4 separate regions of the Homo sapiens genome follow, and all the other regions are linked to region 1. The links are contacts of gene promoters, found by promoter capture Hi-C in human tissues and cell types (Jung and others, 2019). All regions are on one chromosome and are shown on one strand. Each heading gives the region's core, a stretch centred on a gene start or on the middle of the fragment in contact. The rest is flanking DNA. Distances are from core to core; before and after follow the strand shown. Region 1 holds the start of SEMA6C (semaphorin 6C). Region 2 overlaps GOLPH3L (golgi phosphoprotein 3 like). Region 3 overlaps HORMAD1 (HORMA domain containing 1). Region 4 overlaps ARNT (aryl hydrocarbon receptor nuclear translocator).

Region 1 (5,839 bases), core at 2,917-5,416:
GCTACTGCACTCCAGCCTGGGGCGACAGAGTGAGTCTCTGTCTCAAAAAAAAAAAAAAAAGAAAAGAAAAGAAAAGAAAAGCCATATTAATAGAAGTGAAACTATCCATTCATTAAAAATACATATTTATTAAGCCCCTAGTCTTTGTTAAGAGAAAGAGGGACCTCAGGAGCCAAAAGAAGAAAGCATTTCAAGGAGGGGGGAGTCAACAGGTCAAATGGCACAGAGAGGGCAAAAGGATAAAGACTGAAGAGTTGTTCATTGAATGTGACCAGGAGGTCGTTGGTGGCCTTAATGAGAGCAATCTCAGTGGACTGATGGGGACAAAAACTAAAATGATTGAGAATGAGAATCATGAAAATGGATATAGCAAGTATAGGTAACTCTAGAAGCTTAGTTATGAAGGGAAGAGAAATCGAGTGATGACTGGGTGCAGACAAGGATCAAGAGAAAGTTTGGAATGTTTTCCTTTTAATCATGGGAATTACTTGAGCATGTGTATATGCTAAGGGGAAAATATCAGTAGAAAAGGACAGGTTAAGACTGGGAATGGTGGCTGACGCCGGTAATCCCAGCAGTTCGAGAGGCCGAGGCAGGAGAATCACTTGAGCCTAGGAGTTCAAGACCAGCCTGGGCAACACAATGAGACTCTGCCTCTATTTTTTTTTTAAGTTAATACTTTCTGTGTGCAGGCACTATGCTACAAGGAAAGGATACAGTGTTGAGCAAGATAGACAACCAGGGACTGCATACAACTTACAGTAAAGTCATAGGTGAACCTTCGACAGGTGATACGGATGGCATTCACTAGGATGAGAGAGACATGATGCAGGTAAGTATATCTGTAGGGAGCAAAAAGTTGGTGGAATTCTCACTTTATTATCTCTGTTTTCTCTGAAGACGGATGAGGGTTTTCCTGAGATGAACAAGGAAATGGTAAGGAAAGGAACTTGCAAAAAAAGGAGGAAGTTTGAAATATCTCCCTGGGGATTGGAAGAGAGTGCTTTTCCAATCCAATCTGTGGGACTGTGTGATTTCCTTTTTTTGAGATGGAGTCTCGCTCTGTTGCCCAGGCTGGAGTGCAGTGGTGCGATCTCGGCTCACTGCAAGCTCCGCCTCCTGGGTTCAAGCAATTCTCCTGCCTCAGCCTCCCCAGTAGTTGGGACTACAGGCGCACACCGCCACGCCCGGCTAATTCTTTTTATTTTAGTAGAGACGGGGTTTCACTGTTGTTGCCCAGGCTGGTCTCGAACTCCTGAGCTCAGGCAATCCACCCGCCTCAGCCTCCCAAAGTGCTAGGATTACAGGCCTGAGTCACTGCGCCCGGCCAGGACTGTGTGATTTTCTTCAAAACACTAAGGGAGTAGGAAGAGAGGTTTTTTATTTTTATTTTTATTTTTTTAAGAGTCTCCCTCTGTGTCACCCAGGCTGGAGTGCAGTGGCACGATCTTGGCTCACTGCAATCTCCTGTCACCTGAGTTCAAGCAATTCCCCTGCCTCAGCCTCCTGAGTAGCTGGGATTGCAGGTGCCCATCACCACACCCGGCTAATTTTTTTTTGTATTTTTAGCAGAGCTGGAGTTTCTCCATGTTGGCCAGGCTGGTCTCAGAACTCCTGACCTCAGGTGATCTGCCCACTTCGGCCTCCCAAAGTGCTGGGATTACAGGGGTGAGCCACCTCGCCCAGCCAAGAGAGTCATTTTGATTTGTCCTTCAAAATAGCTCTCAGATTCATGTATTTCTTTCTAAATCTGTTCCCATCACCCTTGTCTGATTGTCCCTCTCCCCTCACCTTTAAACCTTGTTTACTTGCTAGTAGGTCTCTGTCTTCTTGCTTAAAAAAATAAAAAAATACAAGTTGCACCCTTTTTCAAGAATTTAAAATGACGTCCTACTCCTGTCAGATGATTTTAACCAGCTCACCTAGTCATTCCAGGCCTTCTGTAATTTGTCTTCCCCTTTTCCCTCCCCTTGCTCCTAACTAGTGCCTTTCCCACACACCAGCCTCACAGGACCTTTTTTTTATCCATGCTGCAGGCTCCTTGCTAACCAAGTAAAAGCTTTTGCTGAAGCTGTGTCCCTCGGGAACATTTTCTTCTTTTGCACCAAGCCAACTCCCACCAAAGTTTTCCTGTCCTTCATGATAAAATGTATCCAGCATCTTTCTGTGCAGTCTTCGGAGAATATTTATTGTCTTCTTTGCACATTTGGAAATTTATGTTCAATGTAGCTTTTCTTTTGAGACTTGGTGTTGTCTTTTTAATAGTTTAGTACTATTAAATATTTAATATTTAGTACTGTCTTTTTAATAGTTTAGACTTTTTAATAGTTTAGTATGTGCAAATCTTATTTTAATTCAAATATATTATCATTTTCTTAAAGTCTGGAACCACAACCCACAGTGGATTGTGTAGTAGATTGTGTCTCAAGTAAGTGTTTAATACTTACTGGATTGAACTGAGATTTGAGCTGGGTCCTAAAACTTTAAATGAATTACACCTTAATCCCCACTCACTAATCTATTCCATAAGCATGTATCTGAGTACCTAAACCCTGTGCTAGGAGCTGAGGAGATTTCTTTTAACCTCTCAGTGCCTCTGTATTTTGAGGTGTCTTTCTCTGAAAATTTCTTTCCAGCCTTTAAAACAACCCCAACTGTCTGACAGTTTGTTGAATTGCCTTGGACCCAAGATCCCTCGGCCGTTAATTCTGTGTAGATATTGTCCCTGTTTATCTTCTTCTATTTTTTTTAGATCTGACTTTACTGAGTTACTGTTCATCTTACTGGTTCACCTGGCCTTAAATCTGTCTCTCTGTCTCTCTCTTTCTCTGTATGTGCGTGTGCACATGTGTGTGTATGTTTAGGTCTCTTGTGTACTCGCTGTGGGGCTTAGCCTAGTTGTTGATACTCCCCTCCCTGATCACAGTCCAGTTAAGGCTGGCCTAAAGTGGCAAACCCCTTCCCCCTCCTTTCCTCTAGTCCAGAGTCCAAGATGTGGGTAGAAGTGTTCAGTCAGATAAAACTATCTGAGAATGCCAGTGTCTCCCAGGCCACCCACTTTCCTGGAGAATTTTGAGAATGTCTTTTGTCCCAGCCCCACATAGAGAAGAATCCTACCAGGCAATACCAAGGTACCAAGCAATCCTGTCTGTAGTAGTTTATTCTTCCTCCTCACTGACATTCCCAGGGGCTTTATGAAGGGTGGGGAGGGAGAAGGGGCAGTTTTGCTGTTTGGAGGGATGTCACGGTCCTCTGAGGAAAGGTGGGACGTATGTCTGTGGGGCAGGAAGGCTGTGTGGGTTACTTTATCAAGTCTTAGCGTTGCTACTCTTTGTGCCTTTCTCTGAGTCAGTTAGTCTTGATTTCCACATCTGTTTTGGCTTCAGCCTCTCTCACCTGCCCTCTTCCATTACCCAACAGCCTGACTGCTAGCTAGTTCTTGCCATAGTGGCCCAAACTCATGCTGCTTTGTAGAGGTGGGAGGGGAGGAGATCATGGAAACAAGGGAAACCTCCTGCTGACACCTTCCTTTCCTTTCCCAGGCCTCCAGCCCCCACGCGCATGCTAGGCCTCCTTATCCGGGTCAGGACGAACCAGAGGAGGCCTACGGGGAGAAATAAGGAGACAGAGGGACAACGCATAGAGAGGAGCAACAGAGAGTTGGGGGCAGAGTCAGGGAGATGCGGGATGCGCCCTCGGGAGCAAGGTCGCCCAAGCCGTATAGGAGGGGAAGGGAGGACGGATCGCGCAGGCTCTGACAGCCCAGCCCAGCCCCGCGAGGCTCCCAGGTTTCCTGTCTGTTTCTCCTCCCAGCTCCTCTTCCTCTCTTGGGAAATTTCTCCCCAGAGCCTCTCCTGTGCCAGCCTGTCTCTGCTTCTGTATGTATTTCTTCCTCTGCCCGGTGTCGGCGACTGTCCGTGGGTCTCTCCATCTCGCGTCTGTCTCTGGTCTCCAGTTCAGCCTCCCGGCCTGGCCCTCTGGGTGGACGGTGCTCCTGGCGCCCCTCCCCGGGCAGCACTATTGGCGGAGAGGTGACGAGAAGGCGGTGTCTAGCCGCCCTCCGAGGGCGGGATTAGTCGCGGCGACCCAAAGGCGGGCAGGAGGTGGGCCCGGCTGGGAGGCGGGCGGGGCCACTGGGGCCGAGCCCAGAGCCCCGGGCGGTCGCATTGTTTTCCTCCGCGGATCCGCGGCTGGACTTGGACCCAGGGCTCTCCCGACAGCGCCCTGGAACCCAAATTCAAGCACCATCCAATTCGGACGCTCATCGCATCTCGCCTGAGCACAACCACGGATTGCGAACTCAGCGCAGCGCGTGGCCGCTGGCCGCCCGCGGCGATCTCGATCCCGCTGACCCGAATCCTGGAGCAAGTACCCCGGGCAGGGAAGGGGCTGCGGGGAGGCGGGGAGGGAGCAGGAGGGCGCGGCCGGCGGGGGGCAAGCTTCTGAAGCGCTAGGGGACCAGGGAGGTGTCGGCGCCCGGTGTGCCTGGCTGACGGAGAGGGTCAACGAAATTGGGGTGCAGGGAGGAAGGAGGGACAGTGGCCGAGCCCCGTAACTGTACTGGTGAGAGCAGAGTCTGGGCACCTCGTTCAATTGGGCTTTCGTCGAGTCGCATCCCGCTGGACTGGGAAGCGCGAAAAGGGATTATTTGAGGCGCGCTCCGTAGAGAGCGTGGAAAACCTGGCCCCTTGCTTTCCCAGCAAGGAAACTAGGGCTCCGAGACCCACGGAGAACTAGACCCTCCTGACGCCCCTGAAGGGATGGGAAGAGGGACGCATCGTTCCGGACTTTGTGTCACGGGTGCTCCTCTGTCCTTGTGCAAGCCGGAATCTGAGCACCCTCTGAAGGGTTGGCTCGTGCAAAGAGGCGGCGAATGGGGCCCTCGAGCAACATCGGTCCCAGCGCCTATCTCCTTCCTTCAGCCCGCTCGGCCCGGGGCTTTGTTAGACTGAGGTCTCCCAAGGAGGACATCCGAGCTGGCAACTGCCTCCTGAGCCCACGGTCCCCACTGAGCGCCGGCCTCAGGCCCGCCCTCGTCGGTTCTCAGCCTCTGGCCCTGTTTCCCTGGCCTGGGAGACCCGCCTCCGCTCCCCAACCCCCGCTCCTATCCCCTCTTCGTCTGCGCCTGCAGGCCCCTCCAGCCCCTCCTCTCGCTAACGTGGCTCTGGGACCCGGTCCCGGCCCAGACTCTGCTACCGGCCCCTCCTCGGAGCCCCGGATCCGGTGAGGGGGAGACAGGTCGAGCCCCTGGCCCTAGGCCCACCTCTTTTCGAGGCTTTAGACACCTGGATTGTCCTGGTTGGGGGTTGGGTGGGAAGGAGGGTAGGTGCTGAGTGTGGGGCTAAGAGCTAAGAGTGGGGGAAATGGCTTGGAGAAAGGAAAGCTCCGGTTCCACAGGCTCCTTGGCGCGACCCTGCTCCCTCTGAGGAAGGTGGACTGGGGCGGGCGACCAGCCCAAAGGCTTCCTGCTATTGTCCCCAGCCCAGTCTCCCCTTCTCCATCCCTTCCACAGCTCTCCTAGACTCTGGCTGTGACCCCAGCCATTCCCCAGAGGTGGCTTCGGGGCCAGGAGAGAGAAGGGCTGTTTCCTCTTCCCAGCAACGGGAGGATCTGGAAAGGGGAGAGTCGGCCAGGTCTCTCCCATGTGCTTCAGATGGGGTGTGTGAAGCAGCTCGGATTCTTCCAGGGCAGAGTGATCTTTTCTCCAGGCCAGGAGTTGAGGAGCTGACCAGATGCTGCTTCCCAGAAACAGCTACAAGAAGCCCTCTTAAAGGTGTATCATAGTTGAGTCTAGAAGGCCAATGCAAAGGCCAGCCAAGTGTTTGTAGAGGCTGGACTA
Region 2 (5,839 bases), core at 3,340-5,839, 460 kb after region 1:
TTGTTATACAACATGTATATTTCTCACATTATGTTCAATAAAAAAAGCCAAACACAAAAATATACATACTGTATGATTCCATTTATATGAAACTCAAAAAACTATTGTATTTGAGGTTGCATATTTAGGTGGTACAATTATAAACAAAATCAAGCCAGGAATTACTATAGTTTTTAGAATAGTGATTATCTTTTTGTAAGGGATAGGGGAAGGAAAAGGGTGTTAGTAATTAGGAAGGAAAATGGAGAGGATTTCTAGATAGTAACAATTTTCTGTTTCTGGACCTAGAGGAAGTTTCATAGTTTTGTTTTTGTTTTTGTTTTTGTTTTTAAGACAGAGTCTTGCTCTGTCACCCAGGTTGGAGTATAGTGGCACCATCTTGGCTCACTGCAACCTGCGCCTCCCGAGTTCAAGCAATTCTCCTGTCTCAATCTCCTGAGTAGCTGGGATTACAGGCACCCGCCACCATGCCTGGCTAATTTTTGTATTTTTAGTAGAGATGGGGTTTCACCATATTGGTCAGGCTGGTCTTGAACTCCTGACCTCTCAGGCGACCCACCCAACTTGGCCTCCCAAAGTGCTGGGATTATAGGTGTGGCCTCCCAAAGTGCTGGGATTACAGGCGTAAACTACTGCTCCCGGCCTTTTTTATTTATTTATTTATTTTTGATACGGAGTCTTGCTCTGTCCCTCCTGGCTAATTTTTGTATTCTTAGTAGGGAAGGGTTTTCAGCATGTTAGCCAGGCTAGTCTTGAACTCCTGATCTCAAGTGATCCACCTGCCTTGGCCTCCCAAAGTGCTGGGATTACAAGCGTGAGCCACTGCACCTGGGCCATAGATCTTCACTTTGGAATAATTAAGCTTTTTACTTTGTTTTGTTTATTCTTCTGTGTGTACATTATATTTCACAATGCAAAATATTTTTTTTAAAGTAAACAACAATAAAAAGCAAGTTTTTGCATGTTAGAATGAGCCAAGGGAGTTAGAGAGAGGAGAAACCATCATGAGATAGAGTAATCCGGGGAAGAATAGAAAAAGGCAGTAAAACAAGCCATGCCTTTAAAAATGGGAGGATTAACATGAATGGAGAAAAGGAAACACGTTCTGGATGAGGGAACCTGAGTGAGCAAAGGTATCATGAGCTTGATGAGTTTGGGAGATAACTGTGAGTAGGCCAGTATGACTGAAGTAGGTGGAGAACAATGGGATTCAAAATCAGTAAATTCGATTTGGACCAGATTATAGATTTTGTTACCAGGCAGAGACTTTTAGACTCTTTCCTTTAGGGAAAAGAGAATCAGCCTAATGAAAACAGCAAAGCCCATTTCATTTTTGTGTCCAAATTAAGGGCTTAATAACATTTTTATGTTCTTTGTGAGTATGTTTTAATGTGTATATAATTGCTTGTTTTTACATGGTTTGGGATTTGTGACAAGTCAAAAAAGGAAAAAATCCTAAATGTTAAATTTTGTGTCCCAAACTCCCAAACTTTTACTGGAGAGTTCCCTAAGATCCTCTGTTTAGAACCCAGTATTATCATTTTTTTAGAAACTATGTGTCTTTCAAGCAGGCACGGTGGCTCCTGTCTGTAATCCCAGCACTTTGGGAGACAGAAGGATTGCCTGAGGCCAGGAATTCTAGACCAACCTGGGCAACATAGTGAGACCTCATCTCTACAAAAAATATAAAAATTAGCCTGGCATGGTGTCACATACCTGCAGTTTCAGCTACTTGGGAGATTGAGGCGAGAGGATTGCTTGAGCCCAGGAGTTCAAGGCTGGAGTGAGCTGTGTTTGTGCCACTGTACTCCAACCTGGGTGACAGAGTGAGACCCTGTCTTAAAAGAAAAAAAAAAATTCTTCTGAGGGGTAACTACCACAGACTGGTTTTAAAATATTAAGCATCTGGCCAGACGCAGTGGCTCACATCTATAATCCCAGCACTTTGGGAGGTTTGAGGCGGGCAAATCACTTGAGGCCAGGAGTTCGAGACCAGCCTGGCCAACATGGTGAAACCCCATCTCTACTAAAGGAAAAAAAAAATTAGCTGGGTGTGGTGGCATGCACCTGTAATCCTAGCTATGCTGATGGGAGAATCTCTTGAACCCAAGAGGCAGAGGCTGCAATGAGCCAAGGTCACACTACTGCACTCTAGCCTGGGTGACAGAGTAAGACTGCCTCAAAAAATATAAACTAATTAAATTAAATATTAAGTATCATTGTCTTATGAAAACAATCAAGAAATTTAAATATAATTTGAAGAGTATAACCTTTCAAGCACAGTTAAAATTAGATACTATCTCAGTTCAATAACACTGACCTCAACTGAGAAAGTAAACATTGAGCACAAGCCTGACCAAAATAAAATAGGTTTATCTCCTGTTGAAATCAGGAATCTGCTTATTTGTTATTATTGCCTTTGGTAAGAGTTTTGATATAGATTATTAACTCATGAACAGTGTTTTAATTGACTTGCTAATGTATAAAACTTTTCATTTATTAGAATCGTTTCTTAAGTTACCTGTAAGGGGAGTAAGCCAATTACTGCTTTTGACTCCTAGTGGTCTTTTCATTTCTCATCTATTTAATTTGTGGATAATGTTTTTCAACCATCCTCTCTTTCTTGGAAAGCTTTCTCCTAGTAATGCCATTTATTGAATACTTACTACTTACTGTGAAAGAAAAGCTTTTCATCATATTTCTCATGTCACTGTGGTAAAAATTGGCAAGAAGTATTATCCATTGGAAATATGGCAATACATTTTCACTTATTTGTTTAATCACCAAAAATTTTATTGAATGACTCATATGTCATAGAAAGAGAGAACAAAAACAATTGTCCCTGCTTTTGAGGTCAATTTATGGTTTAGTGGCATAGGGATGGTTGGAGATGCTGGGAGTAGAAGCCAGAAAGTCAGCAGACCATTTCAGAACAATGTGATATGTGTATAAGTGTGTTCTGAGTAGGAAGGAAACACAGAGGAAAAGCACGTAAATCAGATGGGTGGTGGGAAGGAGCAGTAGGAGAGGGAAGAAGAGATGTTGGGAAAGACTTACAGGAGGTGATAACTCTTTTTTTTGTTGTTTGTTTGTTTGAGATAGAATCTCATTCTGTCACCCAGGCTGCAAAGCAGTGGCGTGATCTTGGCTCACTGCAACCTCCACCTCCCGGATTCAAGCGATTCTGCTTCCTCAGCCTCCCAAGTAGCTGGTATTACATGCACCTGCCACCATCCCCGGCTAATTTTTGTATTTTTGTAGAGACGGGGTTTCACCATGTTGGCCAGGCTGGTCTTGAATTCCTGACCTCAGGTGATCCAACTGCCTTGGCCTCCCAAAGTGCTGGGATTACAGGTGTGAGCCACTGCGCCCCGCCAGGAGGTAATAACTCTTAACTGGAATAAGAGTGAGTTAGTCTGTAAAGAGACAGGTTCTAGGAAAAAAGAACATCAACTGGATGTTCCTAATAATTTCAGTGATGTGCAACTGGAATAACCACAGATGTCTGAAAGCATCCCATCTCCTTTTAATGAACTCCAGTGTTTTAAAACTGAAGTATGAGAGCTGAACATCCAGTTACATGCTTTATTGTTTAAGTTTTCTAAAATTGTGAAATACAGTGTATCCAGAAAATTGTATAAAGCACATATATACAGTTTAACAAGTAGTTTGAAAGCCAACAGTCATGTAATCACCAATAGAACAATATCAGCATCCTGGAAGGCTTCTCTTATGCCTGCCCCTAATCACATGCTGCCCACTTCCCTGTAGTTTTGACATGTATGTATATCCCTAAACAATATATTTTAGTTTTGCCTGTTTTTAAACTCTATTTTATTGGGTTAATATTTTAATGTATTCTTTTGATCAATATAATGTTTGTGAGATTTGTCCATGTTGTTGCATATAGTTTAATCCAGTTCATCCTGATTAATATTTCATTACATGAATATACCACTATTCATTCTATGGGTTAATGCACATTCAAGAGTTCATTATGAACAGTGCTGCTAAAATTCTCCTGGTACTTGTCAGTTATCTTTTTTCAAACAATCTACTGTTATCCACTATACGTATGGGAATTATACGTATGAAATTCATATGTATTTTTAATTATAAAGTATGTTAATGCTACGCTTTTTCAAGCTGCTGATGATCCTCCATCAAGTATAGTTCATCTTTATTAGCAATAGGAGATTAGAAGTAAAAGCTTCTTTAAAGCTGGTAAAAAAAATTCACTAATCAAAAAGTTTTTTTTTGTTTTTTTTTTGAGACAGAGTTTCGCTCTTGTTACCTAAGCTAGAGTGTAGTGGCACGATCTTGGCTCACCGCAACCTCTGCCTCCCGCGTTCAATTCTCCTGTGTCAGCCTCCCAAGTAGCTGGGATTACAGGCATGCACCACCACGCCCGGCTAATTTTTTGTATTTTTAGTAGAAACGGGGTTTTACCACGTTAGCCAGGCTGGTGTCGAACTCCTGACCTCAGGTGATCCGCCTGCCTCGACCTCCCAAAGTGCTGGGATTACAGATGTGAGCCACCACGCCCAGCCCAAAAAGGTTTTTAAAATCAGTCACAGTCAGTCAGTGTCCAACTTGTTGATTATTGGCTATGAATGAAGAAAATTGGCCGCCTTAAAAAGTGACTCAATCCTAAAGCATTTTATTATAATTAAAATATTAATAGCAGGCCGAGCAAAGAACAAGACCTTGTCTTAAAAAAAAAAATTAAAAGTCTAATTTAAGTTACTACCTGGTCTTTCCTTTTAGTTTCCTAATCGCGCAAAATGAACAATAAGTCTCCCAGTAGCTACTGCGATTGTGAATAGGGCAACTGTATCAGAAGGGCTTGTTTGTCAGGTTTTTTTCTTTAAACATAAGCTGTTAAAAAAATTAACTTTTGTTTTTTATTATATCCAGGCATATTAACCCCAAATAACTATTTACTATTGGTATAAAAGGAAATAAACTGGAAGACCAAAGACCTGTTTTAATAGTAGGAAAATATAGCTTAAGCTATTTCATTAAGATCTTCTCCCTAATTCTTCCAATCCCCAAATGCACACAGTACTCTCCCAAAATATAAAATATCTAGTATTGATATTGAGACAAAGCTGCCCACTTGAATTTGGGATTTTGGCTGTAACCACTGTGCCTATAAACTTGCTGTCAGCCATTTCATCACTTTTGCCTCCATATTTTGTTTGTATAATTTATTTTCAAAACATTTTGCAGTTTCTATTGTTTAATCCTGCAAGGCAGGTATCATTCTCTTTATAGGAGTCAAAGTTAAATGATCATTTGGGCAATAAATTGTGGAATTTACATTCAAACTGACTCTGCAACTGGGCGTGGTGTTTCACTGCCTGTATTCCCAGCAGTTTGGGAGGCCAAAATGGGAGGATTACTTCAGGCCAGGAGTTCAAGACAAGCCAGGGCAACAAAATGAGACCCAATCTCTACAAAAAAATGAAAACAGCCCTGCGTGAACCTATAGTCCCAGCTACTCAGGAGGTTGAGGTGAGAGGATCACTTGAGCCCAGGAGTTCGAAGCTGCATTGAGCTATGATCACACCACTGTGCTCCAGCCTGGGCCACAGAGCACGACTCTGTCTCAAAACAGGAAAAACAAAACAAAAACAAATATCTGACTTTGCAGTTTAAAAAGGACATGCTGGCTGGGTGCGGTAGCTCACGCCTGTAATCCTAGCACTTTGGGAGGCCAAGGCAGGCAGATCATGAGGTTAGGAATTCAAGACCAGCCTGGCCAATATGGTAAAACCCCATCTTTACTAAAAATACAAAAATTAGCCGGGTGTGGTGGCACGCACCTGTAATCTCA
Region 3 (5,839 bases), core at 915-3,414, 440 kb after region 1:
GCAGTCAAGATCTGCAATGATTATTTGTTATTAGGAATACATGTTGAAATAGGACAAAGAATTCTTATGATTCGTAATGAAAAATTATTTTATAGACTACAAGTAAGATTTTTGTTCTTTGTTGTATTTCAGCTAAGGATGGTTGTTCTAGCTGTAAGTATTTTTAAATTGTGTGTTCTTTTTTTAATACTGCCAAATTTGGCCTTGCTTAATTAAATGACACTAAAACTATCAATTGATTATGTCACATTATTCAAATAACTGATCTATTCAATGGAATGAAAAAGTAATATTTTGGGTGGTCATTTTTATTTGTTTGTTTTGCTGAGTTCACATGAAGTTTAGTCTAAACATCTAATTTAGTTCTTGAATACTTAGCCTTAGATAACTCAATTGTAAATTGTTTTTAAATAGGTATACACAAACCCAGAAGATCCTCAGGTAAGTGTGCTTGAGTTACTAAAGAAACATAATGCCTCTAATATCTAAAAATAACACGAAACATAATATAAGAATATCTTATGCTTTTAATTATGCTTTAATCAATATACTTTCATATATATTTTCACATTTGAGCTTCATAAAACTCTTCTGAGGTAAGGCAGGGCTTGGATTGTTACCTTTAAACAGATTAGCATGACAGAGATTATGTGACTGATCTTAGGCCACAAAGCTTACAAACTGTTAGAAACTTAACTTAAATCTCCTGACGTCTAATTCTTTATAGTATTTTTTATACTACATTTTAGAATTATGAAAGGGCTTGAGTTTTAGGAAAGTAAGAAAGTCATCCTTAAACTTCGAATATTCATCCCAATCCATTCATAGCTACCTATTTATCTTACCATTAAAGGAGAGAAGGGAGAACGTGAAAGGGAAAACCAGAAGATAAGAAACAAGGGGGAAAGATCTACTGAGTGCTTACTTTATATTAGGCTCTGTTCTTTGGGGCTTTATGTGCATTATCTCATTTATTCATCCCAACCTTCATGAGGTAACCACTATTAGCATCTCCGCTTTACAGATGAGGAAATCTAAGTACAAGGGGTTTCTTGCCTAAGGTCATAGTGGCTGAAGTGGCAGAACCAGGTTTTTGAACCTAGGAAGGCCAGTTCACAATTTGGGTGTTTACCCATTACGCTATAGCTGTTACAATATAACGTTTCATTCAGTCAAGGAGAGGTAGATTTAAACTGGTGTTAAAAATAGACGTTTAAAAACATCACTATGTAAGCAATGAAATATAAAGAAAGCAATAGAAGTATTCAGGCTTCAGGAGGGCTGAGAATGTGTCTTTTCTTTGATACTCACACCTGCGATTAATGCTTAATATGTATCCATGCTGACAAAGCAGATCATTTGGGTAAAGGCTGTGAATTAATAGATTGTGTTCAGAAAACTAATTGATTGTTCAGAAAATGTTCATTTATTTTCATATGTTATATAGTTGTGCATTTTTTCTATCAGTAAATTAGCAACCTTGTTGATACAATAATAATATTTATTGAATGTTTACTATATGTCAGGTACTTTATAAAGTACCCTGTATAAATTATCCCATTTGTGAATATTTATTCACAACTATCAATGAGATATGTACTGTCTTTAATCTCTTTTTTAGCTGGGGAAACTAATACTTAAACTAAGGCTTAAGTGGCTTGCCTGTGGTTACAGTATAGCAAAGATTTATGCCCTGTGTTAGCCACTCTGCTGAGGTATGTTGCCTCCCTTATCTGCCTGCTAAGGAGTTCCTTCCATGTGGTATAAATAACTGAAGGGGTGGCCTGCCCCTCCACACCTGTGGGTATTTCTAGTCGGGTGGGACGAGAGACTGAGAAAAGAAATAAGACACAGAGACAAAGTATAGAGAAACAATAGTAGGCCCAGGGGACCGGCGCTCAGCATACCAAGGACCTGCACCGGCGCCGGTCTCTGAGTTCCCTCAGTTTTTATTGATTATTATCTTCATTATTTTAGTAAAAAGGAATGTAGTAGGAGGGCAGGGTGATAATAAGGAGAAGGTCAGCAACAAACATGTGAGCAATAGAATCTATGTCATAATTAAGTTCAAGGGAAGGTACTATGACTGGACGTACACGTAAGCCAGATTTGTTTCTCACCACCCAAACATCTCAGTGGAGTAAAGAATAACAAGGCAGCATTGCTGCAAACATGTCTCGCCTCCCACCATAGGGCGGTTTTTGTCCTATCTCAGAATTGAACAAATGTACAATCGGGTTTTATACCGAGACATTCAGTTCCCAGGGGCAGGCAGGAGACAGTGGCCTTCCTCTATCTCAACTGCAAGAGGCTTTCCTCTTTTACTAATCCACCTCAGCACAGACCTTTTATGGGTGTCGGGCTGGGGGACGGTCAGGTCTTTCTCATCCCACAAGGCCATATTTCAGACTATCACATGGGGAGAAACCTTGGACAATACCCCGCTTTCAAGGGCAGAGGTCCCTGCGGCTTTCCGCAATGCATTGTGCCCCTGGTTTATTGAGACTAGAGAATGGCGATGACTTTTACTAAGTATACTGCTTGTAAACATTTTGTTAACAAGGCACGTCCTGCACAGCCCTAGATCCCTTAAACCTTGATTTCATACAACATATGTTTCTGTGAGCTCCAGATTGGATCAAAGTGGTTGGGTCAAAGTGGCTGGGGCAAAGCTACAAATTAACAACATCTCAGCAAAGCAATTATTTAAAGTACAAGTCTTTTTCAAAATGGAGTCTCTTATGTCTTCCCTTTCTACATAGACACAGTAACAGTCTGATCTCTCTTTTCCCTACAATAACATACATTACAATGAGTTGGGAAATAAATGTCTCTCCAAGACTGAAGCCCCAAACCCAAACCATGAAAACTGACTATGAGGAATCAAAAGTTTCAATGGATCAATAGGGATTAATATGGCAGAAAAAAGTATTGACTAAATGTTGAGTCATACAAAACAGAATATAGCTATTTAGCAGCTAGTACTGAATATCAGAAGCATAACTGCGATATTTTCTATTTAAGACAATTTCAGAATGTTACCAATTCAAATTCAAATACACCAATAATGGACCACTCATGGACTTCATAAGGTATTGTTCTATAGTTTTCTGTTTGTATTACAGATTACCACTTATTCATATTAATGCTATATAGCTAAACCTCAGGATTCATTCTGAAACTGCGGGGACATCCCCAATTAACCATCAAGATGTGGCTATGCAAAATGGAGTGGTGGCTTGCAGTAGCTTCAAGCCAGGATTCTGTGGCTAATAATAAGCAATTTTAATTGTGGAAAGAGAACTTAGGTGATTAGAAATATAGAAATATAATTTTAAAACATAATGTGCTTTCTTTAAACACTTCATATAAAATGCACTTAAGTAAAATTAAGTTATTATTTCTAGCAGATATTAATATTAAAATTTTATAATAGTGACATTAAAACACATGGTAACTTTCAAGTTAACAGCTTAATGCTATAATAGAAATAAGAATCTCAAATAGTTAAAATGTAAAGTTATGATATTAGAAGCCACAGGTTTTATAAAATAAATTAATATGTGATTCTCTTCTAGTAAAAACCAAAGCAACGAATCTAGCATGTTGTCTACTGACACCAAGAAAGCAAGCATTCTCCTCATTCGCAAGATTTATATCCTAATGCAAAATCTGGGGCCTTTACCTAATGATGTTTGTTTGACCATGAAACTTTTTTACTATGATGAAGGTACTATTTGCAATACATCCTGTTTCAGTTGGTACATATGTTTTATCATTATTGAAACAATTGGTTTCCATTCCAAATATTTTTAGCACCTAAATTTTTTGAAATTATAAAATTTACACTTAATATCACTATTCAAGAAAGAAAGATTTACAAAATTAAGCTTTAAAATAGATGCTTCTCTAGTGATAGGAACATATCCATGTGAAGTATAACCTCACTCAAATTTAACAATGAGTTAACAGTTTTCACTTATCAGATTGGTAAAACGTGTTAATCCATTATTGATAAGGATGTGGGGAAACAGGAACTTTTTTTTGTTTGAGACAGAGTCTTGCTCTGTCTCCCAGGCTGGAGTGCAGTGGCATAATCTCAGCTCACTGCAGCCTCCACCTCCTGGGTTCAAGCAATTCTCCTGTCTCAGCCTCCTGAGTAACTGGGACTACAGGCACTCGCCACCATGCCTGGCTAATTTTTGTATTTTTAGTACAGATGGGGTTTCACCGTGTTGGCCAGGCTAGTCTTGAACTCCTGATCTCAAGTGATTCACCCGCTTTGGCCTCCCAAAGTACTGGAATAACAGGCGTGAGCCACAGCACCCGGCTGAGCAGGCACTTTTGTACACGCGAGGGACTGTAAACAGGTGCAACATTTTTAGAGGACAATTTGGCAGTATCAAAATTTTAAATGCACACTATCTTTAATCCAGAAATTCTATAGTGAGAAAAATATATTGAAGATATAATTGTGCAAATACGCAAAGTTATATAAGGATTTTGATTATAGCATTGGCTAAAATAGGAACAAACTGGAAACAACTTCAGTGTCCTTCATTGGGGACTGAGTAAATAAATTATGGTCCATCTGCGTAATAGAATACTACACAAGCTGTTAAAAAGAAGGTGCTGATAAATTACGTTATCCAAGATATATTATTAAGTTAAAACCAGCTAGGTATGGAATGGTATGAGCTCATTTGTGTTTTTTAAGAAATTTTATATGTATTTCCTAAAACCTATGTAAATATGAAATATCTTTTATTATATGCATGTCTTCTAGAAGAACATAAAGCAACAAAAATAACAACTAACATTTATTGAGTATTTACTATGTGCCAGTTCTCTTCTCAACATTTTACGACACTTTATTTTATTCCCACAATGACCCTATGAAGTAGGTACTATTATTTTCACCATTTGACAGATGAGAAAATCAAATCAGGGATGATGAATAATTTACTCAAGGTCACAGACAGTCAAGTGAAGAAAACAAAGCTTACCTTTAGGGAATAAAATGGGGACTTGGACATAGCAGGAGAGTAATTCGTATGTTTTACCTTATGCCCTTATATACTATTTGAAATACCTGCAATCTGCGTGTGTTTTTATAATAATAATTATATTTTCTTTAATTTCATGAACAGCACAGTTTACACTTACTTTTTTGCAGTTACACCCCCAGATTACCAGCCTCCCGGTTTTAAGGATGGTGATTGTGAAGGAGTTATATTTGAAGGGGAACCTATGTATTTAAATGTGGGAGAAGTCTCAACACCTTTTCACATCTTCAAAGTAAAAGTGACCACTGAGAGAGAACGAATGGAAAATATTGACTCAACTATACTATCACCAAAACAAATAAAAACACCATTTCAAAAAATCCTGAGGGACAAAGATGTAGAAGATGAACAGGAGCATTATACAAGTGTAAGTGTATTTCAAGAGTTATAAAGAACAATAATAACAAATGTTTGACTCAATTCTGAAGATTTTTCATAGCTCCCATTAACATTTGTGTAAATTCTGTATTATAATCATAAACTCAAGGTTGAAAGGGACCTTAAAGTCTAGGCCTATGGTTTTAAAACTTTTTACTTAGCCCAAACAACATTGTACTAGAACTTAAAAGCACAACTATTCTGGTTGAAGTAGGGAATGTTCCTGGAGGCTCTGCCACTCCCTATGTCACTTACCTTCTTAGTGGACTCTGAGGAAACCCCTAGGACTCTAGGGCATAATTTGAAAAGCATTGCACTAGTCTAACTCCCGGCTAATGATGGAATCTTTTCTACAACATCCCTACTAAGTGTTCAGGTAGCCTGTGCTTGAATTT
Region 4 (5,839 bases), core at 1,680-4,179, 320 kb after region 1:
ATTCAATGGATAAAATAAATATTTCTAACAAATGGAACAATTGGATATCTGTATGCAAAAAAAAAAAAAAACAAAAAAAAAACCACACCCAAAAATGAAAACACATAGATCTTACCTCATACAATTTACAAAAATCAGCTTAGAGGCCTAAATGTGTAAGAGCTAAAGTTACAAATAAACTCCTAGGAGAAAATCTTTGTGATTTTGAGTTAGGCAAAAGATTTCTTACACTAAAAGCATGATTCACAGAAGAAAAAAAATTATAAATTGGATTTAATTGTAATTAAAATTTGCCCTCTTTAAAGGATATTATTAAGAAAATGAAAAGACCAGACATAAATGGAGAGAAAATAGTTACAAGTCATATACCTGAAAGAGGATTTGTACCAGGAATATATAAACAACTCATTAAGACAAACAGCTGGTAAAAAAGAGCATAAGACTTGACATTTGACTGAAGAATAAATATGCATTTATGCACATGAAAAGATGCTCAACATCTTTTTACCATTAGGAAAGTGCAAATTAAAATCACAATGAGATACCACTATATACCCACTAGAATGGCTGTAATCAAAAAGTATTGGTGAAAATGTGTAGAAGCTGGAAGGAACCCTCATACATTGCTGATAGACATGTAAAATGGTATAGCTACTAGCTTTGCAAAAGCATTTTGGCAGTTTCCTACAAAGTTAAACATACTCTTAGCCTATAACCTAGCAATTTTATTCCTGAGTATCTACCTAAGAGAAATGAAAACATGTTCACCCATAGATTTGTACACAGTTCATATCTGTATTATTCATAATAGCCAAAAAAATGAAAACTATTTAAACGTCCATTAACATTTTGTAAATGAATACACAACTGTGTTGTATCCATGTGAGAATACTACTGAGCATAAAAAGGAATAAACTACTGATAATGCAGCCATGTAGATGAACTTCAAAAATACCATGCTCAATGAAAGAAGCCAGACCCAAAAGACCACATATTATGTTGTTTTATTTATATGAAATTTGTAGAAATAGCAGAACTAGAGAGGCAGAAAGCAGATTTGTGGTTGGCTGGGGAGTTGGAGTGGGAGCAGAGATTGACTGCAGATGGCACAAGGGAACATCTTGGGGCAGTGAATGTGTTCTGAAACTGGATTGTGGTAATCATTGCACAACTATAAATTTAGTAGACATCATCAAATCATACACTTAGAATGGCTGAATTATGAATGTAAATTTTATCTAAAATTTATAATCTCATTAAAATAAATGTATAATATTCTGAGAAAGAAAAATGTTTTAGAAGCCAGCTCCTTAACAGATTCTGCCTTTTTTTAGTAGATTTCATCTTTTGTTTATTGTCTTTTTTTTTTCTCCTCCTCACTTAACTATAATCTTAGGATTAAAACAGAAGAAATAAAATCCAGGTCCCCAGCTGATGGACCAGGCCAGTTAGATGACCATAAAATTATATATGTTGGCTGGGCACGGTGGCTCACACCTGTAATCCCAGCGCTTTGGGAGGCCGAGGCGGGTGGATCACTTGAGGTCAGGAGTTCGAGACCAGCCTGACCAACATGGTGAAACCCTGTCTCTATTTAAAAAAATACAAAATTAGCCAGGTGTGGTAGCACACCCCTGTAATCCCAGCTACTTGGGAGGTTGAGACAGGAAAATTGCTTGAACTCAGGAGGTGGAGGTTGCAGTGAGCCAAGATCGCGCCATCGTACTCCAGCCTGGGCAACAAGAGCGAAACTCCATCTTAAAAAAAAAAAAGTATATATCTTACTCTTCTTTCTGTATTCTAGGAACTCTTAGGAAAGAATATTGTAGAATTCTGTCATCCTGAAGACCAGCAGCTTCTAAGAGACAGCTTCCAACAGGTAACTTTTTTCCTGGTTTGGTTCTGAATAAATATTTGTCATATTCACTCCATAAATATTGACTACTGATTAACTGAACACTGTGGCAGGCACTACAGTTTTATGTTCTTTAGTAGTTAATCTGCATTTTTAAGGAATAGAAAAGGACTAATACTTTGAAATTATGGATAATGCCCAAGGTATTTCTGTTTGGCTTTGGCTATTTACTGTCTTGTATTCAATTAACTGTATCCAAGGAGCTGTCTTTAAGGTATTTAAACTATTGCGCCAGGCATGGTGGCTCATGCGCCCAACCTCTGTAGATGCTGTGAAAATAGATGTTTTCCTCGTCTGGGCATGGTGGCTCACGCCTATAATCCCAGCACTCTGGGAGGCTGAGGCAGGTGGATCACTTGAGGCCAGGAGTTCAAGCCCAGCCTGGCCAACACAGTGAAACCCCATGTCTACTAAAAATACAAAAAATTAGCCTGGTATGGTGGTGCATGCCTGTAATCCCAGGTACTCGGGAGGCTGAGGCACGAGAATCACTTGAACCTGGGAGGCAGAGGTTGCTGTGAACTGAGATCATGCCACTGTACTCTAGCCTGGATGACAGAGCTAGACTCTGTCTCAAAAAAAAAAAGATAAAAAAGAAAATTGTATACTTCACTAAGCTTGTAGTAGAAAAATTCATTTTATATAGTTTTTTTTTTTTTTTAGAAGGAGTCTAGCTCTGTCGCCAGGGTGGAGTGTAGTGTGCAATCTCAGCTCATTGTAACCTCTGCCTCTTAGGTTCAAGCGATTCTCCTGTTTCAGCCCCCCGAGTAGCTGGGATTATAGGCACATGCTGCCACGCCCAGCTAATTTTTGTATTTTTAGTAGAGGCGGGGTTTCACCACGTTGGCCAGGATGGTCTCGATCTCCTGACCTCGTGATCCACCCACCTCAGCCTCCCAAGGTGCTAGGATTACAGGCATGAGCCATTGCGCCCAGCCTAGACTGTTCTTTTATGGATGAGTGAGAGTCGTAATGAATTATATAAGCTGACTGTTAATTGTCATTCTCAGGCTCCAGCTCCTGAAAATATCTGGTGAATTTTATAGACATGGCTTTTGATAACGGTTTTTACTTTGTATTAGACAAGTTAATTAACCTCTTTAAGTCTCAGTAGTGTCGTTATTGATACAATGAATATATTAATAGTACCTAAATTCAGACGGTTGTTGGGAAGATTAAATAAGGTAATGAATATAAAACACATCACCCAGTATTTGATACGTAGTATTACAAAATAAGTGGTTAGCTTCTAATACTGTTTATTTTTATTTTTTTAATTTTTAGGAATATAGAGTTAAAAGATTATTTTCTATTCCATGAGACTAGTATCTAAAATAACCTAAAATTGGCTGGGCATGGTCGCTCATGCCTGTAATCCCAGCACTTTGGGAGGCTGAGGCAGGTGATCACTTGAAGCCAGGAGTTTGAACCAGCCTGGCCAACATCTTGAAACCCTGTCTCTACTAAAAATACAAAAATTAGCCGGGTATGGTGGCTCATGCCTGTAGTCCCAGCTACTTGGGAGGCTGAGGCATGAGAATTGCTTGAACCCAGGAGGCAGAGGTTGCAGTGACCCAAGATTGCCCCACTGCACTCCAGCCTGGGCGATAGAGCAAGACTGTCTAAAAATAAAATAAAATAAAAAATAAAATAACTAAAATTACTTTTAAAAAATAAAAGCAAAACAAGACTAAAGCCAACTTAATTTTATTTATGGAAACCTCTGTAGATGCTGTGAAAACAGATGCTCTCATCTGGGTGCAGTGGCTCACACCTATAATCCCAGCACTTTGGGAGGCCAAGGCAGGCGGATCATTTGAGGTCAGGAGTTTGAGACCAGCCTAGCCAACATGGTGAAAACCCGTCTCTACTAAAAATACAAAAATTAGCTGGGCGTGATGGTGCACGCCTCTAGTCCCCAGCTACTCAGGAGGCTGAGGCAGGAGAATCACTTGAACCCTGGAGGCGAGGTTGCAGTGAGCCAAGATTGCACCACTGCACTCCAGCCTGGCGACAGAGCGAGACTCCATCTCAAAAAAAAAAAAAAAGAAAAAGAAAAGAAAACAGATGTTCTCAGGTTTCGGGGAAAAAATAGGATTGAAGAGCAATATATAAGCTATATTCTGTGTCCTTAAACTTACCAAATTTCTGGTATAGACTTGTAAAGCTAGGTCAGAGTATCTTTAATGGATTTCCCAAGGGAAGTAGGGAAACAGTCTTTTCCTTCCTGGAAATAAGTTATTATTCCTATTTGACTAGAATAGTATTAGGTTGGTGCAAAAGAAATTGTGATTTTTTGCCATTTTTTTAAATGGCAAAAAATGCAATTACTTTTGCACCAACCTAATAAGAAAGCTTGAGTCTCTGGCCGGGCTCAGTGGCTCACGCCTGTAATCCTAGCACTTTGGGAGGCCGAGGCAGGCGGATCCCGAGGTCGGGAAATCGAGACCATCCTGGCCAACATGGTGAAACCCCGTCTATACTAAAAATACAAAAATTAGCTGGGCGTGGTGGCACGTGCCTATAATCTCAGCTACTTGGGAGGCTGAGGCAGGAGAATCGCTTGAACCAGGGAGTCGGAGGTTGTAGTGAGCCGAGATTGCGCCACTGCACTCTAGCCTGGTGACAGAGCGAGACTCCGTCTCAAAAAAAAAAAAGTCTGGGCACGGTGGCTCACACTTGTAATCCCAGCACTTTGGGAGGCCGAGGCGGGCGGATCACAAGGTCAGGAGATCAAGACCATCCTGGCTAACATGGTGAAACCCCGTCTCTACTAAAAATACAAAAAATTAGCTGGGCGTGGTGGCACGCGCCTGTAGTCCCAGCCACTCGGGAGGCTGAGGCAAGAAAATCGCTTGAACCCGAGGGGTGGTGGTTGCAGTGAGCAGAGATCGTGCCACTGCACTCCAGCCTGGGCGACAGAGGGAGACTCCGTCTCAAAAAAAAAAAAAAAAGCTTAAGTCTCTGAAAGGAAGCATGAGAAATATGCTTCCATGTTTAATCACTTAGTTTTTACTCTCATTTTGTTTTAATATTGAAAAATATTGGTGCCTCAAGGACAATGACAAGAGTTTTAGGGTTATAGAAATTGGAAAATTTTTATTTATTTTTGTAATGAAAATTTTCTATGAGTTCCACTGATGGCATGAAAACTTTTTCAGGTAGTGAAATTAAAAGGCCAAGTGCTGTCTGTCATGTTCCGGTTCCGGTCTAAGAACCAAGAATGGCTCTGGATGAGAACCAGCTCCTTTACTTTCCAGAACCCTTACTCAGATGAAATTGAGTACATCATCTGTACCAACACCAATGTGAAGTATGTATTATACAGGAGTGTGAAAAAACTGTTTTTCCTCTGTTCTCACAACAGAAAACACTTCTGATGCCCTATGTGGGGGGTAAACAATCAAGCAACAACACAAAAATTTAGCCGGGCGTGGTGGCATGTGCCTGTAGTCCCAGCTACTCTGGAGGCTGAGACAGGAGAATCACTTGAACCTGAGAGGTGGAGGTTGCAGTGAGCTGGGATCATGCCACTGCACTCCAGCCTGGGCTACAGAGCGAGACTCCATTTCAAAAAAAGAAAAAGAAAAAAGAAATCAAGCAATCAGTAGTGGACACCAGCTGGGTGTCCTTCCATTCAATTCAGTTCACTATCTACTTGGAGATAGCATCAGATCCCCCAATTTGTGTATGCAGTACCACAAGACTGCTCCCACTTCTGATGCCAGTTGCAAGCCCCAGGTTGTTTTACCTGTGCATCTGACTGACCAGCTGTCTCCCATGACCCCCTACTTGGGTTCAGTCAATTTGCTTGAATGGCTCAGGGAACATTTACCTATGTTTACCAGTTTATTATAAAGGATATTACAAAGGATACTTTGTACATCAGATGAAGAGATAGATAGGGCAAGGTAAGGAGGAAGG

What was found. The method cuts DNA at HindIII sites, captures the fragments that hold promoters and counts their contacts. A contact is called where the count stands out against the background at its distance.
Region 2: a contact is called between a fragment that was not itself captured here and the fragment with the promoter of SEMA6C in region 1, in 1 of the 25 tissues and cell types used here (spleen).
Region 3: a fragment that was not itself captured here is called in contact with the fragment with the promoter of SEMA6C in region 1 in 1 of the 25 tissues and cell types used here (spleen).
Region 4: a contact is called between a fragment that was not itself captured here and the fragment with the promoter of SEMA6C in region 1, in 1 of the 25 tissues and cell types used here (spleen).

Annotation. Positions count from the first base shown.
Region 1 is chr1:151,144,958-151,150,796 of GRCh38, reverse strand. It overlaps SEMA6C (semaphorin 6C), which reads left to right and starts at 4,166. Exons shown (of 19, transcript NM_030913.6): 1 at 4,166-4,364. It also overlaps a transcript of LYSMD1 not described here. RefSeq lists silencers at 3,689-3,748, 3,959-4,418. The HindIII fragment of the contact is 4,441 bases long and covers 1,227-5,667 here.
Region 2 is chr1:150,686,007-150,691,845 of GRCh38, reverse strand. The region is part of intron 2 of GOLPH3L (golgi phosphoprotein 3 like); the gene reads left to right. Among named protein-coding and RNA genes, the nearest start is that of GOLPH3L, 8.2 kb to the left of the region's middle. The HindIII fragment of the contact is 5,683 bases long and covers 1,748-5,839 here.
Region 3 is chr1:150,706,147-150,711,985 of GRCh38, reverse strand. HORMAD1 (HORMA domain containing 1) reads left to right here. Exons shown (of 15, transcript NM_032132.5): 6 at 133-153; 7 at 415-441; 8 at 3,025-3,092; 9 at 3,579-3,730; 10 at 5,177-5,433. Among named protein-coding and RNA genes, the nearest start is that of HORMAD1, 12 kb to the left of the region's middle. The HindIII fragment of the contact is 4,564 bases long and covers 1-4,446 here.
Region 4 is chr1:150,822,583-150,828,421 of GRCh38, reverse strand. ARNT (aryl hydrocarbon receptor nuclear translocator) reads left to right here. Exons shown (of 22, transcript NM_001668.4): 13 at 1,805-1,879; 14 at 5,077-5,228. Among named protein-coding and RNA genes, the nearest start is that of CTSK, 17 kb to the right of the region's middle. RefSeq lists cis regulatory regions at 243, 808 and enhancers at 171-315, 736-880. The HindIII fragment of the contact is 6,293 bases long and covers 1-5,839 here.